Regions from separate parts of the Homo sapiens genome. Here region 2 is linked to region 1. Evidence: promoter capture Hi-C in human tissues and cell types (Jung and others, 2019). All regions are on one chromosome and are shown on one strand. Each heading gives the region's core, a stretch centred on a gene start or on the middle of the fragment in contact. The rest is flanking DNA. Distances are from core to core; before and after follow the strand shown.

Region 1 (6,653 bases), core at 3,049-5,548:
TTTTGGGGGCGGAGGTTGCAGTGAGCCGAGATCGTACCATTGCACTCCAGCCTGGGCAACAAGAGCAAAACTCCATCTCAAAAAAAAAAAAAAAAAAGAGTACGGTTTTGTAGGCAACACTGTGGAGTCGCTCTGGCATAATGTTCCCCTGGGTACCCCTCATCATGGTGACAGTGCTTTGGAAAAGAATGTCACTGCAGTACGAGCCCACGAGGGCCACATAGAAAGTGGTTAGGCTCTGCGTGATACTGGGGCCACACTGCTGGGTTGCAAACCAGCTCTGCCACTTATTAACTGTGTGACTTTGGACAAGGCCATTTGCCTCTCTGTACTTCAATCTCCTTATCTGTTAAGTAAGGATAATAATTGTCCCCATTTTGTTGAGTTGTCTTAAGTATGCTGTATAAATGCATTAAGGCATGAAATGCTTGGAACTGTTCCTGCTTCAGGGTAAACACCACATGCGTTAGCTGTTACAGTGATGATGAATCAGTAGGCACAAATCGCTTCAGATTATTTCATGCTGCCTAGAAGACAAGGTAGATCCAGGAAAGAACTCCTGGGCCAGGACCCTGACTCTCGGGCTCTCTTCCACTTCTACCACAGCTTTCTGCAGCCCTTTCCTTTCCTGTCCCTGCTGCTTGCCCTTCCCTTTCCCATCACCCTGATTCCTATGCTTTCTCCCAGCCTCAAAGGACATCCAAATCCCTCAGCCACTTTCTGAGTCAGCGCTGCTGCGCCAAGTGCTTGTGAGGTTGGTTGTCCTGGAAACAACAGCTTGCTCCATAAACCTCTAGGAATTAGGCTGGTTTGAGACATGACTTGGAGGAGTCTAGGTTATGCAGAGCATATAATTTGCTCTTCTCTCATTTTTTCCAGTTATGATGATGAACATATCTAATTCAGTAGTAGGTATTCGAGTACCTTCCAAACATGTTTATTGGCCAGAAAGAAACCCCCTAAACAGAGAGGAAAGGAGGCTGAGGTTTTTAAACTTAATCTTGCCCACAAAACAATTTGTTCGTGCCTTGCTCTGGCTCTAGTGAGTTCTTTTGCAGGCCAGGGCAAGCCTGCCTTTCAGAATGCTGCCTGGGATCAATGAGATGGTAGGCTTTGCTGTTAGGCAGGCCGGGATTTGAATCCCAGGTCATCCTCTTGCCACATGTTTCACTGTGGACGAATCACTTATTCTCTGTGAACCTCAGTTTTCTTATCTGTAAGATGAGGATCACATAGGGTGGTTAGGATTAAATGAAGTCATGTTCGTATAGCAGCTTGCTGCTCCATGGTTGGCTAGAAGTGCTCTTTTTTAAAACAAAAAAGTAAGGTGAAAGACTCTGAGGCAAAGAGACATGGGTGTTACTTGGAATGAAAAAGCTGGAAAATGACAGAATCTTGTATTTTCCCTCCCCCTCTTAACCACTGTCTTCATTTGGAGATCTTATTCAGGAGGCAAAAGAGGAAACCTGGATTGTGAAATGTCAACAGTCATCTTGCACAGAAGAAAAGCAGAAACGTTTTACAGTTAACACTATTGACCCCAAGATTTCTGACCTGACAAAATTCCTGCACCAGCATTTTCTAATGCTATATTTTTTCCACCCAAAACAACTTATCTGCAATAAAATTATTTCATAAAACAAGACACAGGACAAAGATGTTCTCTGTTACTACCCAGGTATCTTGAACTGCATAAGAGAAAAAGGTGAATGGAGGAAGATTCACTATATTATTTTTCATGCTTTAATATCAAAAACCATAGCCAAGGCTTCTAAGAGCCTTTTCAAAGATTTTTATGGCCCTTCCTTCATAATTAATTTGGCAACCAACCCAGGAACCAGTACATAGCCCCATTAACATCTAGGGGAGGCCCCACTATCTACTGAAGCATATATTGATGCTGATACAAATAATCAGTGTCTTATGCAGCTTATGTACACCAATTATATGTCAGATTCTTGACATATACAGTTTTTAACCCACACGTGAGGTAACTGAAGGAAACTTAATGTCTAAAGTAGTTAAGAACTTTAATACCTTCTCAGGAAACTCTGTCTTTAGGTTTAGTTCTGCAGCTGAAAAAGGGAATATTTCTGGACCAAACATTTCTTTAAAATATCAAATGAGACGCTGGAAGCTATGTGAGAGTGGAGGGTTGGAGAAGGGAGAGGATCAGAAAAAATAACTATTGGATACTAGGCATAGTACTTAGGTAACAAAATGATCTGTACAACAAACGCCTGTCACAGGAGTTTACCTATATAACAAGCCTGTACCTATACTCCTGAACCTAAAATTAAAGTTTTAGAAGAATAAAAAAAAAAAAGAGAATCTTAATGCATTATATCAGAGTGTTCAAAAGGTCCCAGAGAAAAATGCAGTAATTATGGAAGATGTAACTTGTAAACATGAAAATTATGGAAGATATAAATTGTAAAACTATCAATACAAAATTTCACTATTTAATTCCAGGCACATTTTCTAGATTGGCTTTTACAATCTGAGAGAACTACTCTCACTAATTAAAAACTATTTATTAATTTAAATCCACATGCTTGACAACCCTGACTCTATCATCCCCAATTTTTAGTGAGACAGCTTCACTTATTAGAAATTTAGTCTTCATATTTTTGTAATTTAGGGAGATTAAAATATGAGCATACAAACTTTATAACAGCAATTTTCATTGCAAGATGTTTTTAATTGTTTAAAAAAACAAACAAAAACTTGCAGAAATGTTCCTATTCACTTGCTCTTCTCAGGATACTAGCACAAGTGATCAGGAAAGGAATAAGTCAATATTAATTATTACCAGGTCTCGCCAATTATTATTGGTGCCTATTGCAAGTAATCTTTTACACTTCTATGTATAAGTGTGTCTTTTCCAAAGGATGTTTCGAAGCACAGCTGGCTACAGAGATTAGCAGCTGAGGGCCCACTTATTCTCCAGTACCAACTCATAGCTCTCACCATCACAAATACACTACAAATCCTAACTTGGAATAAATCTGCTTTAAGAAAATGCTGGAGTAATGAACAAAGTTCAGTGCCATGAATCAGAAACCTAAGCATCAGAGAAGGAGTGGCTGGTCACAACTGTCATAGCCATGTGACTTGGGGCAATCACCGAGCCTTCTGGGTCTGTCTCCTCTTCTGCAAATGAAGGAATTAGGCCAGATGACCTAGGGTCCCTCCAGCCTGAAGTCAAAATGGAAGCAGGCAGCAATGTGTGCTATTTAACCCCCCTTACAGGTAGAACATTGTAGGTTAAAACGTGAAACAAATGAGTAGCCTAAAACAGACTCACATTCACTGTTCATTCAACTAAAAAGCTAAGCACCTGAAGGAAGGCACTACGTTCAGCTCATTTCTGAAACAATCCACTCACTAAGGTTAGTGTGAGCATATCTGTGTATATAGGTGTTGCCCACAGGACACCAAGTCCTATGTGTGAATTCACATCCCGGGGAGCTTTCACAACCACACAGCACACACTCAGCATCCGAAGAAAGACAAACAGCACTAAGAAAATTCAATTTTCATGATGCACACCAGGGAGGCTAAGCCTTTTTCAGTACCCTAATCTTTAAAATGGTGCATCTACCACCTCGATGCCACATTATGCAAATTTACTAAGAATTGTGAGTGAAGAGATTTCAGCCCAATTAAAAAAAGATAAGGTTTTTTTTAAACGTGTCAATTCCAAGAAGATGGCCCAAGAAATAAGCCGTAATTACTCTATCATTATATCAACTCTTTAATCACTTTTTTCCCCTTGCCTCCCAAAAAAAGAACTGAGGGGAAGTGGAATTTAAATAAAAAATGAATAGTCCCTCCAAGAAACCTCCATAGAAGAGGAGTATATCTTCTGACAGAACACATCTGTGTGCCTCTTAAAAAGGATATTCTAAATCTGGAGGGAGTTAGCTTAGATCCCCACCTTCCAGGCCCTGCCATCTGGAATTCTCAGACCCGTAATATCAAACTGTAAGGAAGCCGGGGCTGGATGAGTATCCCCACTCCCCTAACCCCACTCCAACATTCTATGTGCTACCACGCTCCCCTATTTCAACCCAACTGGTTGAACAGGAAACATTCCTAAGATGAGCAGGTAGCCGGTGGAGCTGAACCCAAGTCTCCCCAGCCCATGTCCACTGACACCCTGGTAAGTGGCACCTTCGCTCACCTTCTTCACAAGGTAGCCCTCTCTGATCCGCTTTGGTTCCATGCTGGCTGGACAGGCAGATGCAAAGGTCACTCTCAGGCAACTCCTCTCAGCAGCTGGGCCTCCTCTGCATGCTGAGGTGGCTGTGGGCCGCCTTTTCTACAGCAGGTCGCTTTCACAATTTCCCTTCTGCTGGCGGTCGCATGATCACATCCTCTTCCCCTCACTGGGTTGGAAGATCAGAATAAGGAACTGCAGAGTAAACCACCCATTCCTTGCTAATGCTGGAGACTTATTAAAACCACAGTTGGGTTGAATATTTACCTAAGGGAAATTCTTACTACCATACAGAAAATCCCTCTTTTAAAGAGAAAAAGAAGTGATGAAAGGAAGAGGAAGATGAACAAGAAAAACTTGTTGGTGAAAATTGTCCTGAGTAAGGATTATTCTTGAGATCCTGGAAATGCCCAATAAAAATGCCAAGAAATTCAGAACCATCTGGTTAGCATAACAAAGTTAACTACTAAATGAATGCCTACTTCTCTCTATGCCAAGCCCTGTATCAAGTGTTTCTCAGCCTACTTATTTTAAACTAAATTAGTCTGCACATCGGCCAGGCATGGTAGCTCACGCCTGTACTCCCAGCACTTTGGGAGGCCAAGGCAGATGGATCACCTGGGGTCAGGAGTTCAAGACCAGCCTGGCCAACATGGTGAAACCTTGTCTCTACTAAAAATACAAAAATTAGCCGGGCATGGTGGCGTGTGCCTGTAGTCCCAGCTACTCGGGAGGCTGAGGCAGCAGAATCACTTGAACCTGGGAGGCGGAGGTTGCAGTGAGCCGAGATTGGTCCACTGCACTCCAGCCTGGGCGACAGAGAAAGACTTCATCTCAAAACAAACAACAACAAAAATGAGTCCACACATCAAACCCATAGGGAAAGTATATTATTTTCCTTATCTTAGAGTAAGGAAACTCAGGCTCAGAGAAGAAAAGTTGTCTCAAGTTGACGCTGCAGGTCACAGGGGAAAGCAGAAGAACCAGGGAGGGATGTGCTAGGGTGCCACTGCCTCACATCAGGCATGAGAACAGGTGTTCCACGTTGAGTGCTGATCTCACAGTCAGCCTGTAAAAAGAAGTCCATCATCAAACAGGTTTTTGAGAAACTTTACAAAATAATCCCAGGTTGGCAACTCCTCTAAATGATGAACAAATTAAAGACCTTCGCCCCGCCAAAGTACTACAGTAAAGAATCCTATAATGGTGTTTTCCAAACTTACTTCGCCATAGCATTCTTTTTTGAACAATTTATGTTAACTTTTTTTGTCATAAATTGAATTAGATCTCCCAAAAAAGAAGTCCTAACCCTTAGCACTTCAGAATGCATCCTTATTTGGAAATAGGGTCATTGTAGATATAATTAGTTAAGATGAGGTCATACTGAAACAAGTGGGCCCTTAATCCAATGTGACTGGTGTCCTTATAAGAAAAGGGCACACAGAAAACAGCCATGTGACAACAGAGTGATGCATTTACAAGCCAAGGAACGCCAAGGATGGCCAGCAACCCCCAGAAGCTGGAAGAGGCACGCAACAATTCTCTCCTAGAGTTGCTATAGAGAACATGGTGCTGACGACACCTTGATTTCAGACTTACGGCCTCCAGAACTGTAAGACAATAAATTTCCATTGTTTTAAGCCACCAGTTTGTGGTACTTTGTTATGGCAGCCCCAGGAAACCAATATAATCCTGAAAAACGAATATTCCATAGAATAAACTTAGAGACCCGTTAATCTGACCATGTGAAAATGAGCAAGTTTGTTATTACTTTGTGCCTCAGTTTTCTCATCTGTAATACGGGGATAATAACACCTATCCAATGAGGTCATTCTGAAGATTAAATGAGATAGACATGGAAGTATTTAGAAGAGTGTCTGAAACATAACTAGTATCCATAAATATTAGTTGTTCTTCATCTTCAAGGCAAATCTCCGTTATCCTAGAGCTGATCCTTTTCAATGATAAGTTCAACAGAGATGATGAAAGCAATCGTAGGACTAGATTTTCCTCATTACACCCGTCAGTGTTCTTTCACTGCAATCAACAGATAACAACTCTGGCTAATAGAGGCAAATAGGAATTTACTGGAAGAGAATGGAGTGGCCCACAGACTGCAGGAAAAATGAAGACTGGGGTCTTTGAAAGGACAGGAATCAGGGCAGTTGTGGGGTTCCAGGAAGCAAGACACCAAGATGAAAGAATGCCAGTGGTTTTCAGACTCTGCAGTAGTCTCCAGGGATCAGGCCTCTGATTGGCCTAACTTGGCCTAGTGCTTCTCTCTCCGGTATCTGAAGGGGGAACATGTGAACCGACAGCCCCAGCAGGACCATGCTCAATGGGAGAAGGGAGGTGTCCCCTAAAGTAAAATCAAGATGCTATTAACAATAGATGAGCGATGGCTCCGAGAAAGGCAAAACTGACAGACGTC
Region 2 (6,849 bases), core at 2,461-4,960, 560 kb before region 1:
CCTAGGAGGTTGGATGCAGAGGTGGAAAACACCAAACTAAAAGGAAACCACAGTGAACTGGCTTCACTTACCTGCTTGTCCAGGGCCTTGCTAATGTCATCCAAACTTGGGAAGACTGCCTTGTCCATCCTGGCCAGGACACAGGCCATCTTGTTAAATACCTTAGCCACCAAAAGGGCCTTAAAGCAACACAGCAGAAACACGTCATTCATGCAGTCACAATATTAATGGACACCCACTCTCTATCAGTGTGGCACAGCTGCTCTTCTGACTGATGTACAGCATCCAGCAGAGTGCCACTCTGGGCACCAAAAAAAGGCCAGCATCAGGACTGGTAACACGTTCAGAGCCCTGATGCTCCCGGGGCTTTTGGCACTGTCCCCTGATGTGGGTGAGGAAAGGAATCTCTCAGGGCATTCTGCACACAATGAATGGACAGGTGGGATGGGAGGGATAGGGGGTTGGATCTAATAATAAGGCTGATTGCAGGTCCTGTTCTGCCACTTAGCAACCATCATGGTCCTCAGTGGGCTCCACGATCCTCTGTTTTTTCATCTGAAAGCAGAAATAATAATAGCCCCTCTCCCACAGGGTTGCTGTGAAGATGAGAAGAGAAATTAACTGCTTGTGAGAGCTTGTGAGGGCACTGTGAAAATTATGGAGTGCTCTCTGAATGTACAAGGTTGTCAGGAACCTTGGGCCAGGCCCTCTAGACTCAGATTCTAGCCCTAGGTCTGCCACTGACCATCCCCCTCCATGAGTCCCTGGGCCTGTCTTCTGGCCTCTCACAGCCTGGAGTAGAGCAGCAGTTCTTCAGCTGTGTCTGACTGTGCCTAAGGTTCGCCTGCATCTCCCTCCTCCAGCCAGAGTAGTTCTGGCTTCTTCTGTTCCACGTCATAGACTACCGTGGAATATTTTTGTTTGAAGAAAAGTCTCCATGGCATAGAGCAGAGTTGAAAATCACTAGCCTGTGTAGACTGTGTGCCCTCTAGCAGGATTCAGGGGACATTTCCTTGAGGAAATCAGGAGTGGGTTAGGTGACTAGCGAGGAACATGGTCAGGGAAGGGAGCACAGAAGATACAGACTGGAGCAGAGAGAAAGCCTGTGCCTGAGGTGCCCATCCTGAAGTGTCCGGAGTGGCTGGAGGGAATGTCATGGATGTGGGTGGGAGTGGGGCCAGATGGAAGACGGTGGGGCCAGATGGGACAGGGCCTTGCAGGACAGAATAAGAAGTGTGGGCTTCTGCTTCACTTAACCCTTCAGAGTCCTGCCAGGTAGGAATGGTAGCTATTGATGCTATTTTGCAGAGGAGGAAACTGAGGCACACAGAGGCCGAGTGATGTCCCTGTGGTTATAGTGCTTTTCTATCAGACAGCCAGGCCAAGCACACAGGTGGAGCCTTCTCAATATTGTGTCTTTCTGCTAGGTCTTACCATTGAAAGTGATGGGCAAGTTGCAGTCAGATTTCTAAAAATGAAAATACAACATTCTTCTTCTTTGGAAATTAACATTAAAATCAGAAGTCAAGACAAAATAACTTCTACAGCACATACCAGTTACAAGACATGGGGGCTTCTGAGATCAGAGGCCTTCGGTGGCCGTGTGAAGTCAACACCTCACAGGAACATAGGGGATGTAGGATCCCTATAGACCAGCTGGAATTCCCCCTATATTTTTTGGCTCAAAAAGAAGTCACTGCAACTGCAGGGAAGCTGTTCCCTTACCTAATGATGTGCATGCCCATCAAGGACCTAAACCTAGAGAAGGCGAATGTCCTCTTTCTCTGGAAAAGCATAAGGCTACATTTTGGACCAGACGTGGCTTTCTTTCACATTGTAATGAATGTGTTTCTCATCTTATATTCTTGTAGTCCAGGATTCCGTCCTATTCACTGAAAATATTGTTGTCTCGGATGCTGACCATACCTTGGAAGGCACCAATATGGATAATTTGAGTCCCAAAAGATCCATACAAAGGATGGTTGAAACGGATGTTCTGGAGAAAACCAAGCAACAGTGAGAAAAGTTGAAAGTTCAGAGTTCCTACTTTGCCCATGCCTTGTAGGTTTTACGGGTACCCACAGGAAATTTGAGGAGGTTGCCCTTAATTATCACCTTTTAAAATGCTTCTGCTAAAGGAGGACTAGACAGGTTGAACTCTTTCCATCCTTACTCACCATCATGGCCAGGGATGGGGTTAGGACGAAGACCCCAAGGATGGAAGATGCAACCTGAAATGAAAACAAATATCAGGGCATTTTTGCCTTAGCTTCAGGTGAGCTCAGAGTCCAGAGCCCCAAGCCCTGCTGGGGCTGGAGCCTTCTTTTAATGATCTCTAACTCCCATCCTCTTTCATGGCATGGGGGACCCAGTGTATCAGGAGACTGTCACGCAGTATGGTTGATATGCTGGCTACTCAGGAGACAAAGCTTTATATAGTTCAGTCAAGGATACCTTTTGCTTCACTCTGCATGTATTGCTAATCACTGGGCTAAATATTAGGCAACCTGACCAACCACTTGATGCGCACATGGGGAAGGACCATCTCAGGCCAAATTGTAAAATAAGTGATGATAACTCAGGTTCTCAGTCTTGTTTTTCTGCACCTTCCTCTCTCTTTCCAAGCATTTGAGACTCCCTCTCTGCCCTCTCTGGAAACTGATATCCTCCTGATTTCCTTTCCTCTAGATTCTCCACTTTGCCTGAGAATAAAAGACCGTGAACCACTTATTTGCACTTTATTTTGAAATAGATTGTGCTAATTAAATGTGACTAATTATTGAAATATTTGCAGTTAATCATTTCTTCTCAGTGTGGCCTACTTGCTTGTTGAGGGAATTTTAAGCATCAGAGAGTAAGTCAGAGAGAATTGGTGGGAGCAGAAACAGGACAAGGTGAGAAAGTGCACAATGAATGTTTCCCCACATTCCATACCTCATTCTCATCTGGTCTACTGAAGGCTCAGGAACTCGCCTTCTCCCCCACCCCGCAATATCCCACATGCAACGAAAGCAAACAAAGGCAAGATACATATACAAAAGAAAAGAAAACAGCTACTCTATGAATAATCATCATGATGCTGTAAGGCTAATAGAGGAAATATATGAGCTGCAAATAGCAACACTATTTTATGAAACTATTAGGGTTGGTATATATTAAATATATTTGAAACTTTCCTTCACTGGAAATTTGTAAATAAGACAAGTCTAGGAAGAGAGGACCCTAAAATATGAATATCTATGTAACCCCCAAGGATTCTGGACCTTTAAGAACTTAGTTATTACTTCCTTTGGGAGAGACTCTTTGTTCAGATGTTCCAAAACAGAGAGGCTATGTTTTTTCAAATTAATATTTGAAAATTCTAAATTCCCCTTGAGTTTAATTTGAAGAGTCCATGGGGAAAAAAGAACTTCTCCCTGGCTATTTTGGCTCTGAGAACATAATCACCTACATTTGAAATTAGAAAATATACTTACAAGGTGTTTCATGGTGTCTCATACCCCACACAACAGCATGCATAGAAGAATTTTCTATGTCCCATTTATTTTCTAAATCTGTTTTATATAGTCCTATGCCTTTCAACTATTGCCATGATAAGGCGTTCTGGGTAGTTTCCTATGATCCGGATACCATTCAGGGAGGAAAAAACGCAAGTTTATGTAATCACAGTTATTGCTTTTCTTTAACTACATCTGAGTATTTCTCTTTACCCTGATACCAAGGTAAACATTGGTTCCAAGATAAACATGGCATATGAGCAAATCTTTGTGGGCTGGTATGCCCATGACCTTAGCAACTAAGGTGAACATTGCAAACATTGATCTCACAAAATGGTTCTGATATAAAAATCAATGAGCTCACTGTTTCTACTTCTCAATTCCCTAAAAGTGTTTTTACTAACAGTGTGAGTGATTGAGACAAACCTCATGAAACCAAAAGAGACAGGCTGAACTACACAATTAGACTGATTGAAAAGCAATCTGGTCCCGCTCTTCATCCAAACCAAAAATCATGTGGTTGTCCCTGCGCTGCCCTCTGTCTACCCACCAAGCTGACCTCATTTCACTTCTTCAAACATCCACCCTGGTGGACTTTCCTGATGTCCTGATATTTTGCTCCTGCTACATGGCTTGTTTCTCTCCTCTGACCTTTCATTTCAGGGCACGTTTTTCCATAAAGAATATTTTGACTAGCCCTGGAAGTCCTGAGACATAGGAAAATATTGCCTTTATATAATAAGTCAAGCATGAATTTAGGCCTTTTCATACATTATCTTTTTTTTTTTTCCTCAAGCTCTGACTAGCGGTGGCCCAGCTACCTGGATCAAATTCCAGAAGGCCAGAACCAAACAGACACTTCTTCTGAGAACATGTGCTCTGTATGGGCAAGCCTGGGCACTGGAATGACCCAAGGAGGAAAGACAGACAGCTCAGTCCTTACAGTGCCTAATAAAAATTGGCCACAGGAACATCAAGCAGTTGCATTTAGGGGGCTATAGGTCACCCAGGGCTCAGATAATATCATACTCATATCTCTATTGCTCTCAGTACTTCAAAAACACCATGCACAGACCACAAACTCAATAGTTATTGAATTATTAAAGAAGTTATTAAAGAAGTTGGAATCATCACAGTTCCTTGCCTGTACCTTACTTTGGCTATTTATATTTTTTGTTGTGTTATATCTATTTGTACAGTTGTCTGATCAGGACATTAAATTGGATATTTATGTCACTTAATTATCAACTTTGTGAGGTTAGAGACTTTGTTTTGTTCTCTGCTGTAGTTCTAGTGTCTAATATTTAAAATAGTACCTGACACAGAGTAGATTGTTTTGTTTTGTTTTTTGAGATGGAGTCTCACCCTGTTGCCCAGGCTGGAGTGCAATGGCGTGATCTCGGCTCACTGCAACCTCCGCCTCCCGGGTTCAAGCGATTCTCCTGCCTCAGCCTCCCGAGTAGCTGGGATTACAGGGTTGTGCCACCATGCCTGGCTAATTTTGTATTTTTAGCAGAGACAGGGTTTCACCATGTTGGCCAGGCTGGTCTTGAACTCCTGACCTCAGGTGATCCGCCCGCCTCAGCCTCCCAAAGTGCTGGGATTACAGGCGTGAGCCACTGTGCCTGGCCCATATACTTGTATTTTTCCCCTAATCTCTAAGCAAATAAAAAATATAAGTCAGTAACCCAATCACATCATTATGGCCCACATACAAACTCTCCTTCTCATATTGTTGCTTGGTTTGGTTGTTTTTCATTAGCTCTTTCCATTCAGTCAGATACACATGAGGACGCCTGGCCTTCTTCATGCATGTGCCACTTGTTTTCCATCTCTATATTCAATTATGATTATATTCATCTGTTTTCTATGGCTGTTTTCAACCTCCTCCCTCTTCTACCCTGCGGATCTTCTCCTCTCACCTTCTTCACCTCCTGCATTTTTATATACATCCAGGAACCCAGGACTCCTGCCTTCCAGGACACCAACTGCCCTGATCCCGCTGTGCTCCTGTTAGCTCTTCTCCTTCTGGCTCAGTTTCCCTGGATGTTTCTGTGCCTTTTCTTTTGTCCTTAATATTTTCTCTAAAGCAGGAACCTCTGAGTAGGCACAGTATGTTAGCACACGTTATCTTGCAGCATCTTGTATCTATCCTGAGCTACTTATTTTTTTCTCTATGTGCACCCAACCTCAATGGCTTGATCTACCCCACTTCTTTCTGAAGTTCATTCCAGGTAAATTGGCAGCTCGGGTTCCCAGTCCACCCCATCTTGTTAGGTAGTTGACATAGTCTTTTACAAAGCTGAATTCTCTTATTTCTAATTTTTTTATTCAATTGAAAACTCCAAACAGCCTGATCATTTTTTTCTCTCTCCAAATGAAAAGTGGCCAGCCGTTGGCCCCCTTGCTTCCATGAAGGCATCCAAATAGTGTTATAGTGTTACGCCCAAGTCAAGACTTTGGTAACATTTCAGTGATCTGCCTAACTTTCAGGAATGTGCTTATCAGCAATCTGATTGGGGCAGGATCTTGGAAGCTCTGACTCATGAGATGACACAACTGCGCCTATTGTCTTATTGGAGTACCTTCTGGGCGCTGACGGTTGTAACCTTGGCAAAACTGCCATTTCAGAGAAGGGACGGAAGTGGCCCTGGGCTTGGGCAGTAGGACATGCCTAGGAACTGTTGAGGAAGCTATGTGCTAGCATGTAATAACCCGTGAAAGAAAACTGGGAGACAGGAAGAGGGGGCAAGACCCCCTTCCTTAGTTCCCTTACAACATCCCCAATATGCTATTATGAGTTAGATGTCTTGTTATCAGAGATCAATACTCCCATTACTTAGGAGAGTCTTGTCTCAAAGAAACTTTGGGTTTCCAGGAAATTGTTGCAAGATATAGGTTCTCATTATAACGCATGTGCATGAAGCAACTTCTGCACATACTCAGTCATGATCTACTCATTCCCCCAACAGATAATATTCACAGGCAATGTTTGCCTTGCTTTCTATCATGTGTTCCTAAGGCTGCCTCCTGTACTCCACTTTTGGTGGTCAAATTTAGGCTGAGTGGATGATGCATTAATTCATTATTATCTCTTATGTAAGGGAGAATGGGGAGTGATCACTAGCTTTCCGGATGATGTCCAAGGATACTTGCTTCCAGGAATTCATATCCTTGTATAGGTCCCACTCACTCTGAATAGAGTTGACCTGTGCAACCAATGGGATATTGTGGAAATAAAGGTATGGAACTTTCTAGGTTAGTTCATAAAAGACATTATGACTTCTGCCTTGTACACTCATGGATCATTCACTCTGGAGGAACCAGTTGCCATGTTTTAAGATGCTCAAGT

What was found. Contacts are between HindIII fragments. The study calls those that stand out against the background at their distance.
Region 2: a contact is called between a fragment that was not itself captured here and the fragment with the promoter of PLEK in region 1, in 1 of the 25 tissues and cell types used here (IMR-90 fibroblasts).

The regions. Positions count from the first base shown.
Region 1 is chr2:68,362,927-68,369,579 of GRCh38, reverse strand. It overlaps PLEK (pleckstrin), which reads right to left and starts at 4,298. Exons shown (of 9, transcript NM_002664.3): 1 at 4,187-4,298. The coding sequence starts at 4,228. It overlaps LOC101927723 (a long non-coding RNA gene), which reads left to right and starts at 3,176. Exons shown (of 2, transcript NR_187652.1): 1 at 3,176-4,165. RefSeq lists an enhancer at 4,259-4,338. The HindIII fragment of the contact is 28,571 bases long and covers 1-6,653 here.
Region 2 is chr2:68,917,887-68,924,735 of GRCh38, reverse strand. It overlaps the pseudogene GKN3P. Among named protein-coding and RNA genes, the nearest start is that of GKN2, 32 kb to the left of the region's middle. The HindIII fragment of the contact is 7,656 bases long and covers 1-6,849 here.